Linked DNA regions of Homo sapiens: regions 1 and 3 are each linked to region 2. Evidence: promoter capture Hi-C in 16 types of primary human blood cells and fetal thymus (Javierre and others, 2016). All regions are on one chromosome and are shown on one strand. The core of a region is centred on a gene start or on the middle of the fragment in contact, and the rest is flanking DNA. Distances in the headings are between cores, read along the strand shown. Region 1 overlaps RAB14 (RAB14, member RAS oncogene family). Region 2 holds the start of PHF19 (PHD finger protein 19). Region 3 holds the start of STOM (stomatin).

What was found. Contacts are between HindIII fragments. The CHiCAGO score rates a contact against its expected background, and 5 or more counts as called.
Region 1: a contact is called between a fragment that was not itself captured here and the fragment with the promoter of PHF19 in region 2, in 1 of 17 cell types (total CD4 T cells). The highest score is 6.3, in total CD4 T cells.
Region 3: a contact is called between the fragment with the promoter of STOM here and the fragment with the promoter of PHF19 in region 2, in 4 of 17 cell types (total B cells, naive B cells, erythroblasts and 1 more). The highest score is 6.5, in total B cells.

The regions. Positions count from the first base shown.
Region 1 is chr9:121,196,693-121,200,354 of GRCh38, reverse strand. All of the region lies in intron 1 of RAB14 (RAB14, member RAS oncogene family), which reads left to right. Among named protein-coding and RNA genes, the nearest start is that of RAB14, 3.3 kb to the left of the region's middle. The HindIII fragment of the contact is 1,566 bases long and covers 1,009-2,574 here.
Region 2 is chr9:120,875,230-120,878,977 of GRCh38, reverse strand. It overlaps PHF19 (PHD finger protein 19), which reads left to right and starts at 1,790. Exons shown (of 15, transcript NM_015651.3): 1 at 1,790-1,887. RefSeq lists enhancers at 991-1,040, 1,301-1,350, 2,362-2,953 and silencers at 1,471-1,750, 1,991-2,040, 2,321-2,770. The HindIII fragment of the contact is 7,264 bases long and covers 1-2,289 here.
Region 3 is chr9:121,368,947-121,372,623 of GRCh38, reverse strand. STOM (stomatin) reads left to right here and starts at 2,374. Exons shown (of 7, transcript NM_004099.6): 1 at 2,374-2,497. The coding sequence starts at 2,437. LOC102723324 (a long non-coding RNA gene) reads right to left here and starts at 2,731. Exons shown (of 7, transcript NR_187160.1): 1 at 2,658-2,731. RefSeq lists enhancers at 1,860-1,949, 1,409-2,369. The HindIII fragment of the contact is 8,041 bases long and covers 1-3,677 here.

The DNA of each region.
Region 1 (3,662 bases), core at 542-3,041, 320 kb before region 2:
AGGTAAATATTGTAGAGGAACAACTGCCTTTTATTTAGATTTGATTGTTGAAGACAAACTTGACCTTGCAGTAATCCAGCTCCTACCCCTTTATTCCCCCAAGCCTTTCCAAATTTTTTCTTCCAAGTTCTGTTTAGGCAGTTTTATTTGATCATGCCTAGAGGTATGTCGTGGTTAAGAGTTTTGGAGTCATACTGTCAAGGGTTCTCCCTCCAGTACTGCCACTTCCTAGTTAAGTGATCTTAAGCAAGTTACTTAACCTTTCGGACTCAGTGTCCTTATCTATAAAGGGGATAATTGGACCTGCATCTTAGAGTTGTTGCTAGGATTAAATGGGGTTTAAAGAAAGCCCTTAGCACATTGCTTGGCATATAGTAAATCAGTGCCTGTAACAGTGCCAGGCACATAGTGGGTGTTTAATATCTTTTGAATGAATGAGAGAGGAGTATAGCTTTGGAGAGCTACATGTAGAGTTAAACCTGGGCCTTAATTCTAGCTCTCCATTTAGTAGTAGTATGACCACGGGTAGATCACTTCGGTTTCCTTATCTGAAAAATGAGTTTTTAGGATTAGAGACTGTTTATAAAGTAGCTGGCATGTGTTAGGCCCTCAATAAATGGCAGTTATTGTAAAGACGTAAAACCTTAGATTATAATAGCTATTAAAAAATCCCTTGAAATTAAAGCTACATCTTAAAAAGTTGTTGCTTTTTTTGTATTACAGTTAAACTTTATCATTGTTGCATACTTCAACTTTGCAACAGAATTTGGAGTGTTCATTTTTATCAATATCAAATATCTTTGCATAGTCACAGTAAGATATTGTGCTAGTGGAGGAAACTTGATTAAGGTAAATAAAATGTGAAAACTTGGGCTATTGAGAGATGTTTCATGTTTTTTAAAAGAGGCTTGAAACATTTTTATGTGGTAAAAAATGCCAGGCATGGCTAAAGACAACAGTTTGACAAATAGAAGTATTAGAGGTACTGTACTTGACTTTTAAAAAGCTTCTTATTCTAGACAATTTTAAATATATACAAAATCAGGTAGCATACTGAGCATTCATATACCTATCAGCCAGTGTCAACAGTGATCAGTCTTGCTTCATCAATATACACTTGCCTCCTCCTTGCCAAATTATTTTGAAGCAAATCTCAGACACAATATCGGTAGTAAAATTTTCACTATTAATCCTTTTAACTTGAGCAGTAAGTGCAGGGGTTTTTTTTGGCTTTTTGGTTGTTAAGTGCTTTCTTTCTGTAAACAGAGGTCCAGTATTAGAATACTTTATTTCCTGTATATAGAAGACCATCAAAGTTACTTTTGCCACATTAAGCAATCCAGCTTTTAAAAATGATTCACATTATTTATATAAAAGTGACATTAAGTATATTGTCAAAAGTAAGGTTTTTTTTTTAAGTGGGTGGGCTACTTGTACTACTGTTGAGGAAATTGACCACTCATTTTTATTAGATTAGATTATTAGATTAACTACAGAAGTTTTATCCGCCTGACTGACAAATCAGGTAGTAGTGGTCCATTTTAGTGGGCCTCTAAAGCAAGTCAGCATGCTTCTGTTGTTGAGTTCCACGAAGGCAGAGACAGTGTTGTCTTTTTTGATCATTGCTGTCTTGCTAAAGCCTGGCACAATGCTTTGTGCTTAGTAGATACTTAACAGATATGTTTATGTTGGAACTACAGAAGCAGTCCATCTCAGCTCTGGTATTTTTAACAAAACGTCGTGCATGTTAAAAAACAAACAAAAAACTTATCAGTGGAAATAACAAGGATAAGAATTAAATTACCTGGAATATTTAATGGGTTGCTTTTCCCTTGTTATGTCTTGGATCAGCTATGTAAAAATTATACAGTAACATCATAGGTTCTAAGGAGTAGAATAGCTGTATAACAGTTTTTAAAATCAGAGCAAACAGTAAGTAGTTAAGCTATTAAAAAACTCCCAAAAATATGCCCTCTACTATTGAGTGTTGGTTTTTCTATTTTGAACCCAATCGTATTATTGGCTTCATAAGATATTCCTCTTATTATCAGTAAATGCGGAAATAATGTTGGGAATATTATGAGTGGGAGATTTGTTTGTTTTTGTTTGGGTATTCTTTAACCTGTATTAAAATAGAAAAGGGCTTTTGAAATATTTATCGGTAGAGAAAATTTTATTTTTAATTCATTATAGTAAGTCAGTGCAGGGATATATAAAGAAAAGTTAATAATTTCTCTATTCCCTGTTTCTCCTGTCCATGTATTTTTCACAATTTGGTGTGTATTCCATATTATATGAATATAGGGTTGAGTGTGTGTGTGTGTGTGTGTGTGTTTGAAAGTGGGGTATGCTGTTGCATAAAACTCTGCAACATGTGTTTTTTCACTTAACAAAATCATGGATGTATTTCCAGGTTAATGCATATCAATCAAAATGGTTTCTAAACTACATGGATATTATTTTGTATTATAGATGTACTTTATTCAGTCATTTCTTTGCTGATTATTTCCAGTTTTTTGCTGTAAAAATGGTGCATTAAATGCACTAATACCTGTAGCCTTATGGGCTGAAGCTTTTGTATATGTAGGATACTTTCTGGGCCAAAGGATGATTTGGATTATTGTTAAGATTTTTAAACATACTGATTACTTTCCAAAATGTTGGCACATTTCCACAAGCAGTATGTATGAAAGTGTATACCTTCACATCTGTACCTACATGTTTCAAAACTAGTCGTTTATATGTCTGTGTAATCTTAGAAAGGTGTCTGATTCAGTAAATAGAAACCATGCATTCTATTTTTGTCACAACAATAATTAGTGTTTAATATTTGTTCAGTAACCACTTAGATCTAAATGTACTGACATGAAAATGTGTCTATCATTTTGTTGAGTAAAAGAAATATGCAGAATTTTACAAGATGGCGTACCCCATTTTAAAATACATTTTTCACCTTAACAGTGGTGAAAATGGTGGTGAAAAATGGTATATTTTCACAGTGGTGAAATGGTATGTTTCCCCAGTGGTGAAAACTGGTATGTTTCATGTTCAGGAGATGAGGTTGAGAAATCCTTTATTAAAGCAATATTAAGCATATTAATATTTTTAAGGAGTCAGTTGAATACATGGCACAGTTGTTAGTGTTTACTATGCATTTAGTAAATATTTCTCTTGGCAGCAAGGGTAGTTTATAGCTAAATTTTACATGCACTAATATCCTTCCTCTTTCTCTGATTTTTATTTTATCAGTCTACCTGTACATACCTGAAATAAGCTAATAATACCTTAGAGAAAATCATGGTCTTTGGAATCAGGCCTGGGTTCAAGTTCTAGGTCTACCATTTACAAACTTTATAACATTGGCCAAATGAGTGAATTTCTCCAAACCTCAGTTTCTTTAATTTTTTGCATGGACATAATGATAATGACTCTGCAGAGTTGTGAGAATTAAGTAAGAATTATAAAAAGTAGTATAGATCATTACATGGTTTACTCTCAAGTGTTCTCAAGAAACTTTTTCTAAGTAAATGAATTATAGTATTATAAGTTAGTATTACTAGTATTACCAGTCATTTATATCTATAAATTCTGACTGCAGTGCATCCTCTGAATGTAATTCATGTATCTTATTCAGAATATTAAATTATAATTAAGCGAGTGAA
Region 2 (3,748 bases), core at 541-3,040:
CATCTCTGTCCCCCAGCATCCTGAAGGCAGACCCAGCCAGCTTAGAAGCTAGTGGGAGTGTTCTGCTCCCATCATCAGCCCTACCCGCGTTGGACACACCTTCTCTTGGCAGAACATGGTTAAGTAGCACAATCCTAGGGCCCCTTTGGGACTTGAAAATGTGCTCTCCAGGATTGGGAGATTTTGTGCCATGGGGCTGCTCCCAGGCTTTCCTTCCAGGTTCAGGCAGGTACTCAGCAGTGCTAGGTTCTGCTGAGGCGCCAGGATCCAGAATGGGGCAGTGAGGCAGGTGAGAGCAGGGGGATCAAGGGGCAGAAGGAAGTGAGGAAGGAGGTGAAAGGACTCCTGGATCTCTGCTGAGAAGGTGAGGTGGGGGGCTGCACAGATCATGCTCCAAGGCCAGGAGGCAGAGGGCCCAGAGTGAGCAACTGACAGTGAACAGGGAAGGCTCTGGGGGAAGGTGCTGTCCACTGGCCACACCCATGAAAGCACATATCCCTGTCTGGTGGGGGTGTCTGCAGAGTGGGATGGTAGCCACAGAGGTGGGCGCTGTGGACTGAGGGCAAGGATGGGGGTGGGGTTATTGGTAAGTGTTCTTCCTCCCTTCCCCCAAGAGTGAGTCTGGGTGGGGCCATGTCTGCCTTTCCCCCACAGGGCAGGGTCCCTATGATTGGAGCTCTGCCCACTGACTCCATCTGCCATTCCTATGACTCTGTGCATGTTGTCTTTCATTGTGTGCCCTTTATTTACATGACATGTTGTGCGTGTGGTATATATTTGCGATTGTACCATGTATTTCTGTGCACTGTGTCTCTACGCAATTTGTTGTTTGGGGCTATTTCGGCCATGTAGGTTTCCTCTTTTGTGAATTGCCTTTTGATATCCTTAACCCGTATTTTAAAAATTGCATTGTTAGCCCACTGAATTCCCTCCACCTGGCACACCCACTAACCTATTTCCACAACCTATCTGAATGCCACTTTTTCAGGAAAACTTGTGTCTCTTGCCCGTCTGTGTTGTGACTTTATGTGTTATGTCCGTCTACCTTACATGCATGTTCTGTTGTGTGTCTCTGTTGTGTACAGTGTGTTCCCCCTTGTGTATCTATGCCTATGGCTGGTGTGTACAGTACTTCTCTTTGTGGTGTGTTTGTGTCCTGTACATGCTGTGGTGTGTTCTGACCTGTGTCGGAACAACATGCGTTGTGCACTGTGTGTTGTGTATCTACATTATACTTGTGCTGTGTCTCTGTGCCGAACGCCTGTGCTGTTAGTGCAAGGTGTTGTGTGGCCTGTTTGGGCGTCCTGGGTCTGTGTCTGCGCCAAGGGTCCGCGCCGCCCTGCTGTGTGTCTGTGCCAGGGTCCGCCGGTGCCTGCGCGCAGAGCTGTGTTTCCTCAACAAGTGTGCGAGCGGTCGTGTGCGCCATGAGCGCTGCCTGGCGTCTCCGTGTGCGCCGCGGTGTGGCCGCTCCTCGGCGGGGGGCCCGGGTCCTGGCTAGTGGCCGCGGAGGATGCGCGCCCGCGGGGCGGGCGGGGGCGGGCGGGGGCTGGCGGCGCTGCGGAGCCCGGCGGCCGCGGGCTCCAATGGCGAGGCCGGCGCGGCCCCCGCTAATTACATAAGCGGGACGTCAATAATTCGCGGGAAAACGCGAAAAAGATGGCGCCCCGCGCCCGGGGGGCCCCTTCCTGAGCGCCCCGGCCCCTCCCTCCGCCGCCTCCCCCTCCTCCCCGCGGCGCCCCCGCCCCGCCCCGCCCCCGCCGAGACCCCGACCCCGGCCCCACGGGCGGACACTCGGCCGGGCAGCCGCGGGCCGAGCGCAGCCGCCTCCGCCACCGATGCGCCTGGTGGCCAGACTCCAAGTGGGACCGGCGGACACGCAGCCTCGCGGTGAGTTCTGCGCTGTTGGGCGGACTCCCCGCCACGCTCTCCCCTCCCGGCCCTCATCCCTCTCTTTTCGAAATCTCCCTGAACTTTGGCGGCCCGAACGCCTCCGGGGGGTGAGACTCCTGCGGAGCGGGGCTCTCGGGGGTGGGGACCGGGGGTGCAGGTTACCTGCGGGGCAGAGGGGCCCCACCCGGGTTCCCGAGCCCCGGGGGGCATGGGTGACAGGTCGTTCTTCCTCGCCCCCGATCTTTAATTTTCCTATCGGGGTGGGGGAAGGACAGACGGGCGTTTGGCATTTCGCTCACGTCCGAAGTCAGGCTGCGGCAGGGTTGGGATGGGGGAGGCTTGGCGTCCGAGCGACTGAGGAGAGGAGCGCTGAACCCGAAGGGGGTGCTTCTGCAAGCTTTTTCCCCCCTCCTGAACATCCTTTTTAAAAAGCCAACGGCCGCCCTGGGAGAGGCCCCGGCGCATGAATCATCCTCGCTTCCTGCCCCCGCCCGGCCCCGCGCTCCCGGTGCCGCGGATTTGAACTGGACGCAGACGGGAACCCGCAAACAGGCATTTCTTTGCAAATGGGTTTGAATCAGCCAATCACAGCCCGCGGGGGCCCGCTCCGGGAGGACGGAGGCGGGGGCTGGGGGGGCGCCACCCGGGGGCCCCCGCCCGGCCAGGGTGGAGGCGGGTGCGGCGACCCGGCCGGCTCCTAGAGGCGCAGCGGGAGAGGAAGTGTCAGTTTGTGAACCTGCAGCGGCCCCGGCCTGGCCCCTGGCCGGGCGGGCGGGGACCTCGCAGCGCCGGGCGAGCCAGGTGGCAGGGAGAGGACAGGGATTCAGACCGCATCCCCTGCCCGGGAGCCTGTGCGCTCTGCGCTGGAGAAAAAGGAGATGGGAGTGGGGGTGGAGAAGGTCGTGGCCACGCCACCATCTGGGGAGCCGAGACCCCTGCAGTGCCTGGCTCGCCCCAGGGCCCCGCACATACTTAGCTTCACACACTCCCTGGCACAATGCCGTAGACATCATCCTGCCCAGTCTCACAGGAGTACACACACGCACCACACAGAAACAGGCACTGGACTCTCTCCCTGTGAACAGATAGTCACAACACCAGGTGCCCAGCGCCATGGCCACAAGGAGGAGACCCGAGTAGGCCCGCGGGGAAAGAGAGAGGCTGTGTGTGGCTGTAGTGGAGAGCATGTGGAGGGACTTGGAGCCAGGTGAGCCCAGCAGAAAGGAGGGGGCGTTAGGGACGGCTTTGAGCACCAGTGAGGGCAGTGGGGAGCCCCAGAAAGTTTCTGGAAGGAAATTGGTGGCCCTGCGGAAGAGTCTGGTGGAGAGGCAGGAATGCAGGAACGGCCTGTTTAGCACTGGGTGCTGGTAGTACCGTTCCCCACCCTAGGTGCCTAGTGGAGGTAAGCACAAGGCCCAGGAAACTGTTATTGGGTGAATGAATGAATGAATGAATGGCCCAAGCAAAAGATGAGGCCTGAACTGAGACCAGGGCAGGAGGATGGAAGCTAGAGCTGGAAAGCCAGAAATCATGGCACTTAAAATGGGCCGGCTGTGGCAACTAATTGCTTGGAGGAGTTTGAGATGCATGAAGGCAGTACCACAGGCAGGGAGAGAGAAATCGATGGGTGAACTGCACGTTGAATAGGATGGTGAGAGACAGGCGTGGAGAGGCTGGCATGGGGATGGATGACTTCACTGCTTGGAGCAAATGTGTATCTGGGTGAAAGCATAAGTGGGTTTAAATGTCCCAGAATTGGTTTCCATTAAATCATCTCATAATTGAGAACAGAAGGGGGGATTACAAAAGACAGATGACCCAGTCTACACTAGCTACAAGCCACCCAGTTTTCCTTTCT
Region 3 (3,677 bases), core at 1,125-3,624, 490 kb before region 2:
TCTAATGCAAACACAGCCTACTTTCCAAATATGAGGTCTTCAGCCACACCCCAAGAGAAGGCCTGAGGTTGGGAATGCCCTTGCACATGCTTTTCCCTCTACCTGGGATACCCTTTCCCACCTCCTGCACCGCTTATTCCCCTTCCCCAGGCTGGCTCCTTCTCATTTCTCAGGCGACATCTCAAAGCCCCTTCCTTACAGAGGTGTTCCCCTGTCCTAACCTTTGCTGTTCTCCGAATATTCCACTCCTTTCACAGCTTCCTTCACCATGTGTAATGATTCAATTACTTGTTTGTGGCCCATCTCCCAACTAGAGTATAAGGTAAACTCCACGAGGCCCTTAGCACACTCCCTGCCACATGGAAGATGCTCCAAGAAGATTTTGTTTGAATAAATGACCCCACCGACTGAATGGACTCCCTTGTGGCCAAGGGGACTCCAGAAAACTTTAAAACTGAGTTCCCAGCCAATGACAGGACAGAAGGTCAGACTCGCCTCATTATAACTTCATCGTATTGGAGTTTAGACACAACAGCTGACCAGCATTAACGTTAAAACACAGATCATAAGACTGACAGAACAGACTGTTTGTGACAATAAGATACCAAATTATAAACAAATTATACCTAAGGTCATGCCAGGCAAAGGTTAAGGCACACATCCCTTCACTTAGAGAATAAACTGTGTTCTAACTGCCACAAGGTTGTTCTCTTTCTCTAGCAGCTTAACAAGCACTGGCCTCGAGATAAGCAATATTAAAACAATTTGCAGCTCCACCAGATGTGGCCTAATGGAACCCCTATTCCACCAGCCATCATTACAGCTTTAATTGGACAAGAGGCTGATTTCAGTAACTTTCTCCTCATAGGAAAACTACCGACCATGGACTGGCTCTGGCTAGTTTACACAGACTGCATACTTGCACACCTTCCTGTCCTGAAAAGACCTTTTGACGCATGGGGTCTAACTGTAATACATGTATTGTTATTATTTTTTAGAGTCCATCAGGCTGGAGTGCAGTGATCTGATCATACATCACTGCAGCCTCCAACTCTTGGGCTCAAGTGATCCTCCTGCCCCAGCCTCCTGACTAGTTGGGACCGCAAGCACACACCACCCCACCTGGCTATTTTTTTTTTACTTTTTGTAGAGATGGGGACGTCACCATGCAGGCCAGGCATTTAACATTTAATTGGTAACTCTTCACTCCAAAATGAACATGGGTTGTATGTTACATGCATGTTTGCTCAATGGGCATGCGTCAGGACCACCCTCATGAATATTCATAGCTCCTCCTGTCACCTGCTGAATATGCATGTCTACCCAAGCTGTTCAGCATAAAGCCGCTACTCCAACCCCTCCTCCAACGAAATGCCTGTCTCTGGTCCTGGCCATTCTCCAGCCTGCGGAATGGCCACCTTGCAGGCTGTAACCCCTTACAAGAAATAAAGTCTCCTCTCCTGTTTTTTTGTTTTTTGTTTTGTTTTTTTGAGACGGAGTCTCGCTCTGTCACCCAGGCCATCTCGGCTCACTGCAACCTCTGCCTCCCAAGTTCAAGCGATTCTCCTGCCTCAGCCTCCCAAGTAGCTGGGATTACAGGCGCGCGCCACACGCCCGGCTAATTTTTGTATTTTTAGCAGAGACGGGGTTTCACCATGTTGGCCAAGCTGGTCTCGAACTTCTAACCTCAGATGATCTACCCGCCTCGGCCTTCCAACGTGCTGGGATTACAGGCGTGAGCCACCGCGCCCGGCCTCCTCTCCTTTTCCAAATTTATACATTTTGATTTTCTTAACACACCTCACTCGAGTTCGTTCACTTCGGCTGCGGCGTGATCTGCCGGCCCTCTCAGCTCAGGCTGACCTCAGCGCCCTCACTTCGGCCACTTCTGTGTCCCTCAGTCTTCTCCCCTCAACTCGGACCTCGCGCCCTCATGACAGGGCGCCATTTTCTTCCCTCTAACTCCTCAGCCCAGAGGAGGCGCCTTGGTCCCGTACCTCTGCCCGGCAAGGCGACTTTTCTTCACTTGCACTTTTGCCTCGGGTCATCCTCTGCTGCTACCTCCCCACTATCCTCACCATCTGCTCCACGTCCCGTGGCTTCCGCCCTCCCTTCCGGTGCAGGGCCCCGGCCTCATACCCACAGCCTTGGGGGCTCTCGCCCCTCAGGCCACGCCCCTCAGGCCACGCCCCTCAGCCCACAGAACTAGCGGGAAGTGACTGCGAAGCAGTCGCGCCGTGGAGGGACAGGAGGGCGGGGATTGGGAGGTGGGTCCTCCTCGATCCTGGGCGTTGATTGGCCAACTCTCACGAGGGCGGGACCTCGATTGGGGGCGGGGCGGCAATCTGGGTCTTGTGCCTCTGGCTCCTCAGGGCATTCCCGGCGGCTCCGGGTTTGGCAACGAGGACGGGGGAGTGCGACTGCGTCTCGGGCAGCATGGCCGAGAAGCGGCACACACGGGACTCCGAAGCCCAGCGGCTCCCCGACTCCTTCAAGGGTGAGTCCCGCGTCCCCTGACCCTCCCCCGTGGACCGAGCCCCCGCCCGCAGCGTGCGCTCCGAGGTCTGACAGCCGGGCTCCTGGCCAGTCTCCGCTGCTTCGGGCTGGGCGAGATCTCAAAGCCGCGGCTCCTCCCTAGTAAACTGAGCATCACGAACCCTGTTTGGCAGACTGAGGTCACGATGGAGGGGTGGCGGGCTGCCAACGGCACGTTTCCCATCGCACGGGCCCTGGTTATCTCGCGGCCGCCAGATGCCAAGCCCCATGCCAGGGCTGCACTATCTCGTGTCACGCACGCGGACTAGGAAACGCAGAGGGAACTGGCAGCCAGCGAGGCGGGGACCGGGACCCCACATCTCACCCTTTGCCCACTCCCCTTCTTTCCCGACTCACTCTCTCGAAGGCCGCCTCCTCCACCCAGCCCTGGCCTGGCCCCAGGGTGAACCCCCTCCTCCCCCAATCCCACCTCCCGAAACTTAGACCGATTTGCAGAAGGAAGAAGTCTCTCTGGCTTTCTTCTTACCTCTCTTTCTAGCTCCACTTTCTGCCCCATTTTTCCCCCTCCGCTTTCCTCTGCGTTTTGGAGAACTCTCCTTCCCGGCTTTTGTTCCTCGCCAGGAACCCTGAGTTCTCCCACCCTCACCCCCACCCTCCCTTCCCAGTCTTCAAGGCAGGAGCTGTAAGTGGCTCAGTCTCGTTCCCCTGTGGAGGAACTGGTACTCTGGGGAGGGGGTTCCAATAAAGAGAGATGGTGGACCTCTCAGGAGTCCTGGTACCCACTCAGGAGCTCTTAGTGATCCAGAGGAATTACAGTGTTTCTAAAGATGGAATTTCAGGCAGGATGGCAGTGAAAGCAATTTAGAGGGCTGGGTGGTCCTTTCCAGGACCCCTCAAAGAACATGACATTGGAGTCATCTATTCTGATTATTTGTAAAGCCAGCTTTATCCACAGCATCTTAGCTATAAGTTCCATTTCCCTTGTCCAGGGATCCCTGTGTTCAGTTCCTTCCCAGGAGCATCAAAGGAATTACAGAAATCTTTATTCCTCACTTTTTGTCTACTAATAACGTTGCAGGTTATCTTCCCAAATGGAGAGTGTAACAGGGAGGAGTTGATGAGAATAATGGCAACCACAACAACAAAAATTGAAACTAAATAGGTCAGGCTCCGTATCACTT